2 separate regions of the Homo sapiens genome follow, and region 1 is linked to region 2. The links are contacts of gene promoters, found by promoter capture Hi-C in blood cells and fetal thymus (Javierre and others, 2016). All regions are on one chromosome and are shown on one strand. The core of a region is centred on a gene start or on the middle of the fragment in contact, and the rest is flanking DNA. Distances in the headings are between cores, read along the strand shown. Region 1 has its middle 50 kb from the start of CREB1. Region 2 holds the start of PLEKHM3 (pleckstrin homology domain containing M3).

Region 1 (3,255 bases), core at 1-2,500, 550 kb after region 2:
AATGGATTCATTTAACCAGTAATTATCAATCATACTACATGTCAGTGTTCTATGATATTTAAAAAGAAATATATATTCCTATCCTTGAGGGATTTATAGTTGCAATTTCAGACATTCATATATATGAAATGATTAGAGAACAATCCAACTGATAAAAAGAGCACAATTCTTCATCTGTGTTTTGCTTTCTATTGTTCGTGCTATTATTGTACTGCTACACTGGATTTGGTTCCAGGACTATTTTCATCAAATTATTTGGTTAAATATGCCCAGTGGTGCAGAAAAACAATGGAGGCATTAGATACTTGGGTTTTCATAGCATCAGGGTTGTGGATGGTCATACAGCTTTTGTGCTTCTCATTTTCTCTCTATAAAACATGCCATAGCAATGGCCATCCAGCATAGGCATTGGATAGACAAGGGGAGATGAAGACAATTAGGAGCATGCCTGGGCTCTGAAGTCAGGCTTCCTGGATTCCTCTTCCAGGTCTGCCATTTACTAGTGTAACCAAGGGTGTGTGTCCTACTTTCCCCATCCAACAAGTGGGGCAATAACTGTACAAACTACAGGGGCTGATGTGAAGCTTGTGCTAACATATGAAAAGTATTTAGAAAGAGCTTGGCATGTAGTAAACACTCAATAAAAGTTAGCTACTATTATGTAGTGTTTTCCAATGGTTTATTTAGAAGCAAAATAGTATCAGTCTAGAAGTCCAGGCTTGTTTTTCTCCCAAACATGTTTTCACAAGTGCTTCCATGGTCTCCTTCTCCTTTTCTTCTTCCTCTTCCTCTAAAAACATATTTTGCTGTGTCTGCTTGGTCATCTTTCACTGGGCCAGAGAAAGAATCCCTGAGGGTTGGACAAGGGGAGCAGCTGAGTTGGTGAGAAAAGGAGCCCAGCAGGTTGAATGCCTCGAACCACTGTGATGAGCTCTTGAGCTGGGTGCCAATCAAAGTGAAGCAGTGGGGCTTGCCAGGTGAGATGTTAATTTCAGCGGTCACACGTGTCCCTGTCTGGACTCTCCCTAGGACTCTTGACCCTACCCTGCAGTGGTTTGAAATGGATTTTATTAGGCTTTCATTACATTCTCATATCATTTTTTTCACTTGGTATCTAAGCTACACGAGAGCCAGTATAGTGCTTTGTCCTTGGCTAATACTCTACCCAGACCTCTCCTGAGTGTCCAGCTCTCTCTCTCTGCTGCACCAAATCTAGAGTGAGGTCAGGGGCTTAGAAACTCAACTCAACTTGTTAATCAATGAAGCGGTGAGGCTATTTTGTCCCTTTCTTAAACTTCTTTCTAAAGCAGAATTATAAATAGGATACTCTGTGACCTATGGGTCAAAAAGGGAACAATCGGGCAAATGATTTTTGATTGTAATATCTATTATGACCATAATATATTAATAATGAATGTCAAGGATTTGGCTCGAAGACAATAAAAGCAAAGGTGCCACATATGTGCTCTCTTTCTCCCTTTCTACAGTACTGATTTCATAACTTATCTTTAGGTAGAGTGGAAATTAGATTTTAAAAAGTGAGTAAAAGTTTTCACCCGAAAAAGTAATTTGTTAATTTTTATCTTGAATAACTCCTTGACTGATGAAACTCCATTTTGTCTTATACTGTTTGCAAACAAAAAAGAAACAATAATCCACACTAATAAGCACATCTGAGAATGCCTTTAAAACCCCTTTATTTGCCTAATTGGAGAAATTTTCTGGAATGATTGTCAATGGAAAACAGTTACAGCATTTGTGTCTAAATATATCTTCTTGCTTTTGTTCTACTTCCACCTGAGTGTTTTTAAAATTCTTATGTAGAGTTGATCTTCCTTTGTTAAGGATACTAGTTTTCAGAGTAAGGTTTTTTTTTTAAGAAAATCATTTAAAACATTTATACTACCCTAAGCTTCCACAGTTCTTGTTGAGAGTATTTTTCTCTTTGAATTTCAAGGGAGTGATGTCTTGTTGGCATGTTTGATGTTGTGGATGTGGGTTTCACTTTATTCGAGCAAAGCATTTAGAAAGCTCCAAGAATTTCTCTCATCTTCCTGGGTTGAGGGAAATGTAAACAGTGACAAACAGTTCTTCAAACTCTCCCTGATTTTTTTTCTTGTGGTGTTACTTTCCACAGAGTTCAAACACATGGGCTTTTAAGAAGAGATAATAATCTCATTTGACAGTAAGCAATAGTTATTATGACGCAGATTAGTCAGTATTTTGTGAAATATCAAATAATCAAGTAGTTTGGATCTGCTAGACCCCTCCCATTTCAATCATTATGCATGAAGTTGATGACCTTCATCCTTGTGACCCCACAAAGATCTTTATGACACTTATGTGTGAACTTAGAGCATTTTTCTACTCAACCGCAGCGCTGCTAACTCTGTTTGGGACGGAGGAGCTGCCTGTGCATTATAGGCTATTTAACAGCATCCATGGCCTCTCCCTATTAGATGCTAGTAGGACCCCTTCCTCTAGTGTGACAATAAACGGTGTATTCTGACATGGCCAAATGTCCCCGGGGAGCAATATTGCCTCCCATTGCCGTGGGGACCTCAGCCATCAACCTATGATGGGTAAAGGAAAAGATATTTTTCTTCTCCTACAGTTAAAAACATAAAAATTAGAAAATCCCCGGGAAATATTTTTATATCACCAGCAAATATCCTGACTAGTCAAAATGAGGCTTGCCATCAAAAGGAAGTCAGGATTCATCTATTTCTATTATGACCTTTCATTTCCTGCTGCATATTATAGTACATAGTAGACATTCAACAAATGCCTTTGCCTCCCATTGAGAACCACTGTCTTACAGCAATCTTCAGTCCAGGAGTATAGTGACAGTTTTTCACTACAATGAACAAAATTACTAGAGGATGTTAGGAGTTAGAAACCCCAGATTGCTGATGGGGCAACATAGGCACAGAAGTTTACACATGCCCAGTCTGTCGTAAGAGAGGGAGGCCGAGTCCCACTTCCCATAGTGCTTGGATCAGTCTGCCTGATAGTGCTTGCTTGATAATTACCGGTTAAATGAATCCATCCATCAGTCAACCACATTTGTTGAATGTCTACTATGTACTATAATATGCAGCAGGAAATGAAAGGTCATAATAGAAATAGATGAATCCTGACTTCCTTTTGATGGCAAGCCTCACTTTGACTAGTCAGGATATTTGCTGGTGATATAAAAATATTTCCCAGGGATTTTCTAATTTTTATGTTTTTAACTGTAGAAGAAAAATATCT
Region 2 (3,487 bases), core at 81-2,580:
TCCCAGCACTTTGGAAGGCAAGGAAGAAGGATTGCCTGAGGCCAGGAGTTCAGGATCATCCTGGGCAACACAGGGAGACCTTGCCTTTACAAAAAAAAAAAAAAGAGAAAGAAAGAAAAAAGAAGTTAGCCACGTTGTGGTGATGCGTGCCTGTAGTCCTAGCTACTCAGGAGGCTGAGTTGGGGGGATCCCTTGAACCCAGGAGTTCAGGGCTGCAGTGAGCTATGATCGTGCGACTGCACTCTGGCCGGGGCACAGAGTGAGATCCTGTCTCTAGCAAAACAGAAAAAAAAGTACCTCAAATTGCAGGGTTTAAAGAAAGCTTATTTAAACTTTGAATATCAACCAAAGGAAATTTTTTCTTAACTCAAAGCTTAAAGATTTGCTTATTAATCTTCTGGAGGGTGGGAAGGTGGGAAGAGGAATCAGAGTTTTAGATTTCTGTTTCATCCCTGACCCCTTTGACCTTTTTTTTTTTTTATCATTCCTTTGTTCATTCATTTATTCAGATATATATACATTGGGCCTGTGCTAGGTGCCTACTAGATGGTGGTGAGTGAAACTGAAATAGTGCCTGCCCTCAGGGAGTTTATAGGTGAGATGGGTGAGCGTGGGAAAACCAATAAAACTGATAAATAAGTGTGTACTTATAAAGTGAGAAAATGGCTAAGAAGTGTGCTATGATGGAAAACAGACAGGAAACTGCAAGGAAGGTCTGTCCAATCAGACCAGCATATCCCTGCAAAGCGACCACAGTCACTGCAGGTGGGATGTGGGCGGTCTTACCAGGCAGTCCTGCCCGCGTGCACACACACGCACACCCTATTTTGCTGGGAATCCGCAAGTGGGGGTGAAGACCTCACCTCAAAACCACCCCTTTTCAACCTGCGTAGGAAAGGACAGTGAAAACGGATTTTCACTGCAGCCCCAAAACCGGAAATGAGAAGCAATCTCCAGAATAGTCCCACTTTTGGAAAGAACTTATTTGAGTAATTAATTCCCTTAGACAAGGGAGCTGCTAAAAACCAGCCCGATCCTGACATGTTCTAAGTGACATTTTCCAATCGCAAACACCCATTTTGGCGTTGGGTGGAGCAGTGAGGAGACTCCACGACACACGCCATTGCTTTCACAATGTGTACAAGAGGAACTGTATATAAGAAAGCAAAGAAATAAGGAGGCCTGGCGGGTGCGGTCAGGCCTTGCCTAGCTGCCGGGTCCCTCGGGCAGGAAAGACTCGTCCTCGCGGCCTGGAACCTTGTGTGTCCGGCTCTGGCTGCCCGGGCCGCCGGCGGAAGCATTTCAGAGTGGGACCGCGAGAAGCCGCTTGTAAACAGAGCCGGGCCGGGATGGTCAGCGCCCGGGCGGGCTGTCACCGTGAGGCGGGCGGCAGGCTGCGGGAGTCAAGCCCCTCCAGGAGCGGACTGAAGGCCCCGCAGGTGAATGGAGAGTAGCAGCCGGGGCCCAGGTGAGCATCCGTCTGCTTCTGTGCTGCCTGGCCGGCCAGTTTGGGGGATGGGGTGGGGACGACTGCATTGTAAATATCCGAGCAGCTCCCAGGGATAGCAGTGATTTTGCTGTTTCTTGCATGCTCAGGTTTTTATTACGTGCTGGAGATTGTACCACACTGCAATGGCTAATGGGTGAGGGGAGATTACATGATGCATTGTCTGCTTATTTTTGTGAATCAGGTATGTAATAGGAGGAGAAAGTAGTTGAAATAGTAGGTGATCTTGTTGAGTGCGTTATTAGTATCCCTGCCATCCCCGCCTGGGGATTATAAAACCAAACCCCAGCAGAGCTTTTAACCTACATCAGGCTGGGGCTTCCAGAAAACGATTGTTCTTTCTGTCGACTCTGTCCGTTTTTAATGTATAGTAAATGACACCACATGACTGATGACAAGCATGGTTTGGTCTTGTAGGAAAGAATTATTAAGCTAAAAAATCAAGATAAGAAAATCTCACACTCATCCCTTAAACAAAAATAAATTACTACTGAGATATATATTTGGATGACAAATTGAGACTGGTCTGGATGTATACCTTGCAAAGCAAGACAAATTTGAATTTACCAGGTTAAACTGAGATTGAGCCATGCTGTTGTAAACTTATTTAGAAGTTTATTTCTCTCTTCTTTTTTCTTCCTTGGAAGGGACCAGAGAGAAACAGCTGAATTTTTTTCTCTATATTTTAAGTAATCGTAGTGAGTTGTGATTTGTATTTATAAAGTATTTTATTATAAAATACTACATGTAAATTATAATTGGCATACTTAAAATACAAGGCAGTTTTTGACTGACTGACTTCAAGAAAATGCCTTAACAAAAGCTGGGCTATATATCTAGTCTCTAAAAATATCAGTAGACATTTGTAACCTTGGTCACATAGTCTTTTAGACAGGAGATGAATATTAGGTTAAATTGCACCTACAATAGATAGATATACATAGAAGAAATGATACTAATTCCTGATGAGTTTTTCTTTACAATGAATATTTTTACAATGTCATGGTTTATAGCAAAAACTATAAAGCCAGACTACTTCAGTTTGAATTCCTGCTTGGTCACTTCCTAGTTGTGTAATCTTGGGCAGTTTACTTAGCGCTTCTGTTTCCTAATCTGTAGAATGGGAATAATAATAGTATTGACCTCATTAGGGTTTTTATTATTGTTATTTTATTTTATTTTATTTTATTTTATTTTATTTTATTTTGAGACAGGGTCTTACTCTGTCATTCGGGCTGGAGTACAGTGGCGTGATCATGGCTCACTGCAGTCTCGACTTCCTGGACTCAAGCGATCCTTCCACCTCAGCCTCCCTTGTGGCTGGAACCATAGGCACAAGCCACCACGCCTGGCTAATTTTTGTACATTTGGTAGAGACAGGGTTTCGCCATGTTGCCCAGGCTGGTCTTGAACTCCTGAGCTCAAGGCTTAGAACCGTACCTGGCATATAGTAATTGCTATATACATGTTTGTTAATAAATATATAAAATAAAAATATGCCAGTGTTGAAAGTGGAATGGTGATTACCAGGGCCTGGAGGGAGGCAGGCAATGGGGATTTGTTGTTTAATGCTGCGGTCCCCTGGTGGTTTTTGGCACCAGGGACCGGAAGACCATTTTTCCACAGAGCGGGTGGTGTGGGGTCGGGGAGTAGGGGGGTGATAGTTACGGGATGAAACTGTTCCACCTCAGATCATTAGGCATTAGTTAGATTCTCATAAGGAGCGTGCAACCTAGATCCCTCGCACGCACAGTTCACAATAAGGTTTGCGCTCCTATGAGAATCTAATGCTGCTGCCGATCTGACAGGAGGCGGAGCTCAAACAGCAATGCGTGGCTGGTCCATCGCTCACTGTTGTGTGGCCCAGTTCCTAACAGGCCATGGACCCGTACTAGTCTACAGACATGGGGGTTGGGGACTCCTGGTTTAATGGGTATAGAGTTTCAGTTTTGCAAAATGAAAAGAGTTCTGGAGATTGGC

The links. The method cuts DNA at HindIII sites, captures the fragments that hold promoters and counts their contacts. A CHiCAGO score of 5 or more calls a contact.
Region 1: a fragment that was not itself captured here is called in contact with the fragment with the promoter of PLEKHM3 in region 2 in 1 of 17 cell types (total CD8 T cells); the score reaches 5.6 in total CD8 T cells.

Annotation. Positions count from the first base shown.
Region 1 is chr2:207,478,398-207,481,652 of GRCh38, reverse strand. No RefSeq gene overlaps it. Among named protein-coding and RNA genes, the nearest start is that of CREB1, 50 kb to the left of the region's middle. The HindIII fragment of the contact is 1,328 bases long and covers 587-1,914 here.
Region 2 is chr2:208,023,370-208,026,856 of GRCh38, reverse strand. PLEKHM3 (pleckstrin homology domain containing M3) reads left to right here and starts at 1,330. Exons shown (of 8, transcript NM_001080475.3): 1 at 1,330-1,468. The HindIII fragment of the contact is 3,995 bases long and covers 376-3,487 here.